4 separate regions of the Homo sapiens genome follow, and regions 1, 3 and 4 are each linked to region 2. The links are contacts of gene promoters, found by promoter capture Hi-C in blood cells and fetal thymus (Javierre and others, 2016). All regions are on one chromosome and are shown on one strand. Each heading gives the region's core, a stretch centred on a gene start or on the middle of the fragment in contact. The rest is flanking DNA. Distances are from core to core; before and after follow the strand shown. Region 1 overlaps ARF4-AS1 (ARF4 antisense RNA 1). Region 2 holds the start of CCDC66 (coiled-coil domain containing 66). Region 3 overlaps PDE12 (phosphodiesterase 12). Region 4 holds the start of KCTD6 (potassium channel tetramerization domain containing 6).

Evidence for each region. Contacts are between HindIII fragments. The CHiCAGO score rates a contact against its expected background, and 5 or more counts as called.
Region 1: a fragment that was not itself captured here is called in contact with the fragment with the promoter of CCDC66 in region 2 in 2 of 17 cell types (total CD8 T cells and total B cells); the score reaches 5.5 in total CD8 T cells.
Region 3: a contact is called between a fragment that was not itself captured here and the fragment with the promoter of CCDC66 in region 2, in 4 of 17 cell types (total CD4 T cells, activated CD4 T cells, fetal thymus and 1 more). The highest score is 6.6, in total CD4 T cells.
Region 4: a fragment that was not itself captured here is called in contact with the fragment with the promoter of CCDC66 in region 2 in 4 of 17 cell types (activated CD4 T cells, fetal thymus, naive CD8 T cells and 1 more); the score reaches 7.1 in activated CD4 T cells.

The regions. Positions count from the first base shown.
Region 1 is chr3:57,598,902-57,601,601 of GRCh38, forward strand. It overlaps ARF4-AS1 (ARF4 antisense RNA 1), which reads left to right. Exons shown (of 2, transcript NR_132370.1): 2 at 1,842-2,015. It also overlaps a transcript of PDE12 not described here. Among named protein-coding and RNA genes, the nearest start is that of ARF4-AS1, 2.5 kb to the left of the region's middle. The HindIII fragment of the contact is 2,797 bases long and covers 3-2,700 here.
Region 2 is chr3:56,555,900-56,558,599 of GRCh38, forward strand. It overlaps CCDC66 (coiled-coil domain containing 66), which reads left to right and starts at 1,276. Exons shown (of 18, transcript NM_001141947.3): 1 at 1,276-1,354. The coding sequence starts at 1,344. RefSeq lists enhancers at 719-1,391, 1,392-2,063, 1,532-1,691. The HindIII fragment of the contact is 1,896 bases long and covers 1,062-2,700 here.
Region 3 is chr3:57,557,265-57,559,964 of GRCh38, forward strand. It overlaps PDE12 (phosphodiesterase 12), which reads left to right. Exons shown (of 3, transcript NM_177966.7): 1 at 1-423; 2 at 2,046-2,124; 3 at 2,298-2,700. Among named protein-coding and RNA genes, the nearest start is that of PDE12, 2.3 kb to the left of the region's middle. RefSeq lists an enhancer at 840-1,472. The HindIII fragment of the contact is 2,956 bases long and covers 1-2,700 here.
Region 4 is chr3:58,491,463-58,494,162 of GRCh38, forward strand. KCTD6 (potassium channel tetramerization domain containing 6) reads left to right here and starts at 634. Exons shown (of 3, transcript NM_001128214.2): 1 at 634-707. RefSeq lists a silencer at 285-934. The HindIII fragment of the contact is 482 bases long and covers 1,162-1,643 here.

The DNA.
Region 1 (2,700 bases), core at 151-2,650, 1.0 Mb after region 2:
GAAGCTTGCTAAGTGACAAGACCTTCTTGTATCCTTTTGTGAACCCCCAAAATATGAGACAGGCCTCAGTTAATTTAGAAAGTTAATTTTGCCAAAGTTGAGGACACGCGTCCATGACATAGCCTCAGGAGGTCTTGTAGACATGTGCCCAAGGTGATCAGAGCACGGTTTGGTTTTATACATTCTAGGGAGAAATGAGACATCAATCAATATATGTAAGATGAACATTGGTTCATTCTGGAAAGACTGGACAACTCAAAGCAAAGGCAGGAAGACTCTGAGTGGGGAGGGAGCTTCCAGGGCATAGATAGATAAGAGACAAATGGTTGCATTCCTTTGAGTTTCTGATTAGCCTCTCCAAAGGAGGCAGTCAGATATGCGTTTATCTCAGTGAGCAGAGGGGTGACTTTTTAAAGAATGGGAGGCAGGTTGGCCCTAAGCAGTTCCCAGCTTGACTTTTCTCTTTAGCTTAGTGAGGTGGAGGCCCCAAGATTTATTTTCCTTTCACACTTTAGGCCTTATGTCTGTTTTTAGTTTTATATAGTAGAATTCCTTAAAACAATCTTCAACTAATTCTTAGGGTCTTCTTAAATTCAAAAGACAAACCGTATGAGCCCTCCTCCCTGTAACTTATTCCAAATCTTAATCCATGTTTTCTGTTTAGTTATGCAAAATAAATCGAAAGAATTCTGTTCTCCATCTCTAGCCTCCAAAACCTGAACCAAAACAAAAGTTGTCAAAACAGATTTTTCAGTAAGAATACACTACACATCAAGTGGCTAATGTAAATTACAAAACAGGATGTTAATGGCAGACTGTAATATCTCTATTGTACAGATAAAAATAATCAGGGTCAGAGAGATTAAATATTCTGCCCAAGGTCACACAGCTAAAAGCAGTGGAACAGCTATAAGAACCCATTTCTTCTGGTATTAACTGGTATTTACACTCTTTTTTTTTTTTTTTTTTTAATAAATAAGTGGATTCTGGCTATGTTGCCCAGGCCTGTCTGGAACTCCTGGGCCCAAGCAATCCTTCCACCTCAGCCTCCAAAGTGTTGGGATTACAGGTGTGAGCCAGTGCACCCAGCCATTAACACTCTTAACCACTACACTATACTACCTTCTTACATTTATTTATTTATTTATTTGAGACAGGGTCTCACTTTGTCACCCAAGCTGAAGTACAGTGGCATCATCTCGGCTTACTCAACCTCCTGGGATCAAGTGATCCTCCCACCTCAGCCCCCAAAGTAGCTGGGACTACAGGTACACCACCACATTGGCTAAGTAGTGTTATTTTTTGTAGAGACAGGGTTTTGCTATGTTGCCAAGGCTGGTCTCAAACTCCTGAGCTCAACCAATCTGTCTGCCTTGGCCTCCCAAAGTACTGGGATTATGGGCCTGAGCCACTGTTCCCGGCCAAATTCTTTTCTTTTCTCTTTTCTTTTTCTTTCTTTCCTTTCTTTTCTTTCTTTCTCTTTCTTTTCTTTCCTTCATCCTTCCCTCCCCTTCCTTTCCTTTCCCTTTTCCCCTCCCTTCCCCCTTCTGTTCCCTTTTCCCTTCCCTTTTCCCTCCTCTCCCTTCCCCTCCCCTCCCTTTTTCCTCCTGCCTCAGCCTCCCAAGTAGCTGGGACCACAGACATATTCCACCATGCCCAGCTATTTTATGTATTTTTGGTAGAGTTGGCGTTTTGTAGAGACCAGCATGTTGCCCAAGCTGGTATCCAGCTGCTGAGCTCAGGCGATCTACTCGCCTTGGCCTCCCAAAGTGTTGGTAGTAGAGGTGTGAGCCACCGTGCCCAGACCCCAAATTTATTTTTATTTTATTTTATTTTTCTAGGTCAGGCATGGTGGCTCACACCTGTAATCCCAGCATGTTGGGAGGCCAAGATGGGAGACTCACTTGAGCCCAGAAGTTCCAGACCAGCCTTGGCAATATAGTGAGATGCCATTTCTATTTTAAAAAATATTTTAAAAATAAAATATTTTTCTATTCACCTTTCATCAATACAAACCCAGAAGAGAATCTTTCTTATTTTTAAAAATGAGGAAATTGAGCCCTACAAGAAAAATTGCTATAGTTTATTGATCACTTGCTAAGCCATGTACTTCATTTAATCATCGCTTTTGAACACAGTGTTGTATAAAGTTGCCCAGGCTCAAAAGCATGTACTCATAACATACTACACTAGGTAGTATGTTTTCCTCATCTCTGGTTATTTTATTTTATTTTTTTTTGCTCTGTCACCTAGGCTGGAGTGCAGTGGGGCGATCTTGGCTCACTGTAGCCTCTGCCTCCTGGGTTCCAGCGATTCTCCTGTATCAGCCTCCGGGGTAGCTGGAATTACAGGCACATGCCACTGCGCCCGGCTAATTTTTGTATTTTTAGCAGAGAGGGGGTTTCACCATGTTGGCCAGGCTGGTCTCGAACTCCTGACCTAGGTGGTCCACCCACCTCGGCCTCCCAAAATGCTGGGATTACAGGTGTGAGCCACCGCGCCCAGCCTCTGACTATTTTTCTTAGTGAGATCTTTTTAGTCACAAATATGTATATGGAATTTACATTCCAGTCCCTTGGGTTTAATAATGTACAGACAGCAGACCCCCTGTATCTTCAGGTTTCAAACCCACAGATTCAGCCAATAGCAGATGTGGAACCTGCAGATGCAGAATGGCAACTGTAAGGGCCTTGAGCATCT
Region 2 (2,700 bases), core at 26-2,525:
TTCAAACAGATACTTGTACATCAGTGTTCACTACAGCATTATTCACAATAACTAAAAGATGGAAACAACCCAAATGTCTATTAATGGATGAATGAGTAAACGAATTGTGGTATATATATACATAGAATGGAATACTATTCAATCATAAACAGATATGAAGCTCTGATACATCCTACAACATGGATGCACCTTGAATACATTATGTTACTTGAGAGAAGACACAAAAGGACAAATATTGTATGATTCCACTTTTATGACATGAAGTATCTATAATAGGCAAATTCCTAGAGACAGAAATAAGATTAGAGGTTTCTTAGGATTGAGGGGAGAGGAAAATGGGAAGTTGTTGCTTAATGGGTACAGAATTTTTATTTGGGGGTACTAAAAAGCTTTTGGAAAAATATACTGGCGTATTCCACAACATTGTATCATGGAATTGTCACTTGAAAATGGCTAAAAATAGCAAATTTTAACACACATATTACAACAATAAAAAATAAAAAAGTAAAGGTTTGTCAGGCATTTAATAATTAATACCTTTCATTGTTTTTGTCTGGAAAGAGTGTGTGCAAAGATACTTAACAACCAAATGTAATGTGTGATCCTTGATCGGCTCTTGCATTTTTTTTTTTTTTTTTTGAGACGGAGTCTCACTCTGTCGCCCAAGCTGCTGGAATGCAGTGGCGCGATTGGCTCTTGCTTTCTAAATAAAATGCCTATAAGATATTCTTAGGACAAGTGGGGGAAATTAAATCGGGAAGAGAATTATTATGAAATTAATGATCTTAGGTATAATAATTGTACTGCGGTTATGTAGCAGAACATCTATTCTTAGGAGATACATGCTGCAATGTTAAAGGGTTAAGTGTTACAATGTCTGCAATGTTAAAGGGTTAAGTGTTACAATGTCTGTAACTTACTTGCAAATGGTGACCCCAAAAAGGTGTGTGTGTGTGTGTGTGTGTGTGTGTGTGTGTGTGTGTGTGTGTGTGTGTGTGTGTGTGTCTGTGTACGCGCTTTGGAAGGCTACAATTGCGAGAAGCGCAGGTCTCCGCCACCGAAGCTTTAGACTCATAAGCCGGGTCAGGCCAAATTCCGCTGTGCGTAGGGGAACAAACGGCACAAACGGGGCACAAAAGGGGAACAAACGGCATACGCAACCGTCCCCGCGGGAGCCCCGGCCCAGCTCAGCGCACCCGCCAGCATGCCCCACCCTGATTGGTCCACTTGCTCAGCTCGCCGGCACCCCTATATCCAATTGGCGTAGCGCTTGCTGAGCGGCGGCGGCAACCGACGTACACAAGGGGCTTGAGCGTTCTGTGGAGAGAGTGCGAGGTCAGGCCATGAACTTGGGGTAAGCAGGGGTAAGCTGGGGTAAGCTGGGGTAAGCAAGGTGGTCGTCAGCGGAGAGGGAGGCATGTGTGTCTGGGTTGTCCCTTGGAGTCTTTACTGGAGAACGTTCCCAACCTGCGCCGCCGAGAGGGGCAGAGCCCAGTTCTCGGGTAGAAGATCGAGGCAGATGGGTCGGCCCTTAGCGACTCCACAGACCTTACGTTTTCACTTAATGACTAGCATTAAAACTGCCAGTGATCCCCTTTCGGTCCCTTATTTACCTCAGGATGAGGAGGGAAGAGAGGTGAGGAGGAAAGGAGAGAAATGACGAGACAGTTAGAGGAAGCGTGGCGGCTCCTGGGGAGGACTCCTGGCCCATGCCCCGGGTTCTTCGCCACCTTGTTTTTGGAGTCTTGCAGAATGTTGAAACGCCCAAATTCGTTTTAGGCCCACGAGGCGGGGAACCAGGCTTCTCAAGAAATCGATGTAGTACCAGTGCCTAACACCTAGTAGGCGCTCCTTAAGTAGGGGTGAATAAATAAAAAGGGCTGGTGCATGGTCTTCATCACTCGCAAGTTTGATATTTTGAGAAGATGAGAAGCCACCAAACTCAGACCTAACTACACATCGTTCAGCAAATGTTATTATGTTTTAGAATCTGGGGATATGGAAATAAATAAGATAGTGTGTCCCTTAAGGAGATTACAGTGCAGTGCGTCATTGAAGGTACTTTACCATTGAAGCTCTTTTCTTTCTTGGTGACGTTTCACCAACATAAACACGAACTGTTCATAACCCTACAATAAGGAAAGCCGTAAAACCTATTCTTTCCAGTGTTTTACCTTTAATAGTTAAGGTGAGGTAATTTGATTTCCCCTACCTGAGCAACACCGCAAATTTCGCATTCCTAATCAGACCTTTCCCAGCCTCTCTCTCCCTTGACTGGCTTGCTGGATTTAATTTTCTCTCTCTGAATTATGGACTGTATGTATGGGCTGCCATTTTTGTTCTCAGTGGAGTTTTAGGACCTTAACAGACGTTCAAGTTTTGTTGGCAGTGGCTACTGTTACTTTATGCCTTTGCTTCTGATATGCACGTATAAAGCACCATACTAAATATCACTATGTATTATTTGAAATATTGAAAGTGGTACTCTTTGCTCAAGCAGTTACTAACCTTGATGGCATTGTTAGTAGTCATATCGATGCTCCAGCACTCCATAGAATGTTTTAGTCATGAGTTCATTATGAAACTAATGAATGGCGGTTAAATATATCTTGTTCCTTTAACTTATGTGAGGAGTTTTGGTAACAGCATTATTAAAAAATGGTGGTATGATAACTTAATTTATAGTTTACCAATAACAAA
Region 3 (2,700 bases), core at 83-2,582, 1.0 Mb after region 2:
CGCACTGTCTCTTACAACATCCTGGCAGACACGTACGCGCAGACTGAGTTCTCGCGAACGGTTCTGTACCCATACTGTGCCCCCTACGCCCTGGAGCTCGACTACCGCCAGAACCTTATCCAGAAGGAACTCACCGGCTACAACGCCGATGTCATCTGTTTGCAGGAGGTTGACCGCGCAGTGTTTTCTGACAGCTTGGTACCCGCCCTAGAGGCCTTCGGGCTCGAGGGGGTGTTTCGAATCAAGCAGCACGAAGGCCTGGCCACTTTCTACCGAAAGTCTAAGTTCAGCCTTCTTAGCCAGCATGACATTTCATTCTACGAAGCCCTCGAGTCCGACCCACTTCACAAAGAACTGCTGGAGAAACTAGTTTTGTACCCATCAGCGCAGGAGAAGGTGCTCCAGAGATCTTCTGTTCTTCAGGTAAAGTAGTTCCGCCCGTCTCTTCACATACTGTCCCACTTTTAGGGGCCAGGAAGGCGAGGAATGAGGTGGGGGTTAAAAGTGCGATGAAAGTATCCAGATATTGTTGAAAGGTGTGTTTGCCCTTGTATCTTCAGCACAAAGTTTACTCTTCATTCATTCAGCAGATATTTTTTGAACACCTCTGGTGTGCCTGCCATACTGCAGGTTGCCTTGAACAAGACTAGCAGGGACTTTTACAGTGCTTACAATCTAGCGAGAGGGACACACGCTAAATGCAAGAACAATAGTAGCTAATGTTTTTTACTACTTGCCAAGCACTGTTCTGGCACATTTTAAAGTACTTAAAATTTAAGAGCGTGGTGTGTTTTGAAGTGCTCCATAAATATAAACTAGTTTTTTTTAAATCATAGGCTCATTGAATCTTCACAGTAAGTCCCCTATTCCCATTTTATAGATGTCATTCTTGTGTTAAAGTTTTTAAGTAATTGATTTTGTTCATAATAAGAAGAGCAGCTACCATTTTTTAAGTACCTAAGGTGTTTCATGCACCTTATAAGATCATTTAATTGACTCCACACAACAGCCCATGAGGTGGATGGTATTGTCAGTGACTGCCAGTACGAAACTGGCTAGAAAAGCATCTTTTTGCAGGTCACATTGCTATAAATGGTGAAATGAGTATTCAAACCCAGGTCTGCCTGACTCCAAAGCCTGTGCTTACGCTTGAAAACACTTTCTCCAGTCAAAGTGTTGTCATGTAAAATGTATTGTTTATATTACTAGCTTTATATATTGGACTATTATTATTATTATTATTATTTTGAGACGGAGTCTCTGTCACCTAGGCTGGAGTACGGTGGCGCGATATCGGCTCACCGCAACTTCCGCCTCCCGGGTTCAAGCGATTCTCCTGCCTCAGCCTCCCTAGTAGCTGGGACTAGAGGCGCGTGCCACCACGCCCGGCTAATTTTTTTAGTAGAGACGGGGTTTGGGGTTTCACCATGTTAGCCAGGATGGTCTCGATCTCCTGACCTCGTGATCCGCCCGCCTCAGCCTCCCAAAGTGCTGGGATTACAGGCGTGAGCCACCACGCCCGGCCTATATTGGACTATTATTAAAACATGTTACACTGAACCTAGTCATGTAGATCCTGAAACTTTAAGTTGGATTTCATGACTGCAGTCCTAGTTCATCAAGGGAAGGAGATGGAAGAAAACGTTAGTTCGCCATTAGTCTTAGATAAAAAACAGGCCGGGCCTGGTGGCTTATGCCTGTAATCCCAGCACTTTGGGAGGCCGAGGCGGGTGGATCACAAGTCAGGAAATCGAGACCATCCTGGCTAACACGATGAAACCCCGTCTCTACTACAAATACAAAAAAATTAGCCGGGCGTGGTGGCACGCGCCTGTAGTCCCAGCTACTCCGGAGGCAGAGGCAGGGGAATCGCTTGAACCCGGGAGGCGGAGCTTGCAGTGAGCCGAGATCGCGCTACTGCACTCCAGCCTGGTTGACAGAGTGAGACTGTCTCGAAAAAACTCAAAAAAACAAACAAACAAACAAAAACATTCAGGAGATTTGCAAATGCCAACTGAACTCTTGGCACTTTCCGTTTATTTTAGGTTTCAGTTCTTCAGTCTACAAAGGACTCTTCTAAAAGGATATGTGTTGCTAATACCCATCTTTACTGGCATCCTAAAGGTAGGTTTTATTTGGTATCACAAGTGACTTAAACACGCTTAAAGTTGTTTAAAGTGTTTTACACAAATGCATATCTTGAACGTCACCCAGAGACTGTAATTTGTGTAGTTTTTCTTTTTTAACTTAAAGACAACTTTAAAAAATACTTACATTAATGTTTTTTATATTCATAGGTGGGTATATTCGCCTCATTCAAATGGCAGTAGCCTTGGCTCACATAAGACATGTTTCATGTGATCTGTATCCTGGCATACCAGTTATATTTTGTGGGGACTTTAATAGTACACCATCAACAGGAATGTATCATTTTGTCATCAATGGCAGCATTCCAGAGGATCATGAAGACTGGGCTTCCAATGGGGAGGAGGAAAGATGCAATATGTCTCTTACACATTTCTTCAAGCTGAAAAGTGCTTGTGGTGAACCTGCTTACACAAATTATGTTGGTGGCTTTCATGGATGTCTAGATTACATTTTCATTGACTTAAATGCTTTAGAGGTTGAACAGGTGATTCCATTACCTAGTCATGAAGAAGTTACCACCCACCAGGCCTTACCTAGTGTTTCCCATCCCTC
Region 4 (2,700 bases), core at 153-2,652, 1.9 Mb after region 2:
TCGGCCACTGCGTTTGGAGCAGGGGCTCCCTTCCCTTCTTCTCCATCTAAGTCCTCTAATCATGTCCCTCCCAACACTTACGGCCATAACTTGTCATTATTTTGTCTATTAGCTGTTTCCTTGAGTCTTGTCTGTCTTCTCCTTTGATTAGGACCCGCCTCCGTCTTGGTGGCCGCTGTATCTCCTAAACCCCCAGGCCTGAGATATAGTGGGGGGCCCATACAAGTTCGTGAAATGACTAAGGAGAAACAGCTGTGGAGGCACCACCCCTGAGGACGCAGTGGGCCTGGGGTTGGGCGGACCCCAGGCTGCGGGCGGAGGCGGGACGTAGGGGCGGGGTTTCGGGGCTTCGGAGCGGAGCCTAAGGGGCGGGACTGGGGCTTCGGGGCGGGGCTTCGGGGCTGCGGTCGTGTGGTCTTGACCGCGCGGCTCCGACTGCGCTGGCTGAGTTCCTCAGGCCGCCCGCTCTCTGGCTTCCAGCCCGCGCTGCCGTTAGGGGGCGCCCGCGCTCGTGGCGCCGCGGCTCTGCTGGGAAGGCGCCGCCCGCGCCGGGCAGCTGGAGCCGCAACTCCGGGCGCGGGCTCAGTCGTCCCCTCTGCCGCCGCCGCCGCCGCCGTCGCCGGGCGCGGGCTCGCTTGTCCCCGCGCTCGCGCTCTCCGGCCGCGGGCATCTCCCGGCCCGGCCGCAGCAGCCGCCGCCGCCGCGCAGTGAGTGGGGCTGGCGCGGGGCTTGCGGGGCCGGGGTTTGGGAGGGCCGGGTTTCAGGAGACGTCTGCGCCGAGCGGCCAGGGGAGCGGGGCTGAGGAGGATCTGGGCGGGGGCTCCTGGAACGGGGCGGCGGCGGGGCCGCGTTGAGGGGACCGCGCGTCCCGGGCTGGCACGAGCCAGCAGCGGAGGTGCCCGCGGCGGGGCCTGGGCGGGGGTTCCGGGGCCCGCCCGGCGGGGATGCGCGGTTTCTGCGGGCCCGGGTTCGGAGCCCCGCGGCGCGCCCCTCGTCCGGGCCCGGAGCATCGCCCGCCCTACCCCTGGCCGGGTCGGGTTGCGGGGGCTTCGCTGGCGGGGCAGCAGCGAAGGGCGGCCCGGACGGAGATATTTGGGGTGTGCTCGAAAATGATTGTTTTTGGGAGATGGCGCTTATTAGCCACCAATTGCCCTAGTTTAAAGCTTGAGGCAGGACTCAAAACCCTGCCTTTGGGATTTTCTGCCCTGAAGAGACTCTCAGATCGCAGCTGAGTTCTTTATGCCTAGATTTGTGTGTGTGTGGTGGCGTTTTTAATGCTTGATGTCAGAGGTGATAAATGGCCATGGTAATGGGGAGCCCTGGCAGCACCTGCTGGGCTGACAGTGGTGGAGGCTGTGTCTGGGGGTGGGACGGGGAAATGAAACGTGACAGAGATCCTGTTTGGATATTCTGCCGAAGTTACCATGTTTCTGTTCAAGTATACCAGTTCTAGAACAAGTTGATGGATCCAATTTTAGGACTTTGTGATAGAAGAGGTTTGGGTGGCAAAGTGACCTGGGATGACCCGGCTCGGCTAAGAATATTTGGGGTAGCCTAAGTATCTCTTCTATATCCCCCTGGCATGTTCTTTTTTTCGCTGTCACAAATGCCCTATTACTTGAATCATCCTGGGATAGGAGAGAAGCTTGGGGACAGCATGTAGCACAGTCCTGAGCCCAAGATTGAGATGTTTTCAAATGAACGAATATGTAGCTAGGAAAAGGAAAATGTGTTTGTCAGCAGGGTTGGTAGGTTGAGAGTATTTTCTCTTTGGCCGAAACCATCAGTCCATACTGATACTTGATTTTGTGCTATGCCTTAGATATGAACGATGGAGTGGTCAGGATAGCCATGGATGCCATTCCAAAGTTTTGTGATTTGAATTTTCATAAATCATATTTTAACCAAAGCATTACTACTTAAAGGAATCTTAGGGTGAACCCTATGAATCCTTCAGTGCGCTTGGATTTTGATATTTGGGGTCCATTTAAAATGGAGTACCTGTATGTATTTGGATTCAGCTTTAACTTGGAGATAATCCCGAGTCATGCTTTAAAGAAGTTCCTTCTGAGATCAGGAGCTCAGGTGTTTGGTGAACTCTGGGAAAACTAGACACTCCCCTTTACCTGTATATAGTTCTCCCTTCTGGAGCTCTGGGAAAAGGAGGACCTGGGGAGATTTGAAGCAAATTAAGAGGCTGCCTCCTCCATATTTGCCGTCTCCAGGCCAATGCTCTAAATTACTTGTGTTCACACTCAAGTTTCTCATGTTAACCTAGAAATTTTGTTTATGCTGCTGCCACTAATGTTTTCACATTTGTCTAATACTTGCTAGTTTACAGATGGTTTTATATTCATGATCTCCCTTATTTTCTCCATTTCCCCAAAGAAGAAGCTGGGCATAAAGAGTGATTTTCTCAGGGTCTCATAATCAGTAACGGAGCAGAATTCAACTACAGGACCTCCCTGGGAACCTGTTCTCTTTCCTTGTCCTGATGTGTTACTCTTATAGGCCAATTTTTGCCTTTGTGTTGTGCCTAAATGGTGTAATTACCCCGTTTTGGGAAGGTGGTATTATCCCGTTTTATCTTGCGGAAACTGAGGGTTAAGAGGAATGTTATGATTTTGTGACTATTTGTGACAGCTTTTTAATATTAGGTCACTTTTAAACCTATAGCTTCTCTCTTCTAGACCACATGGT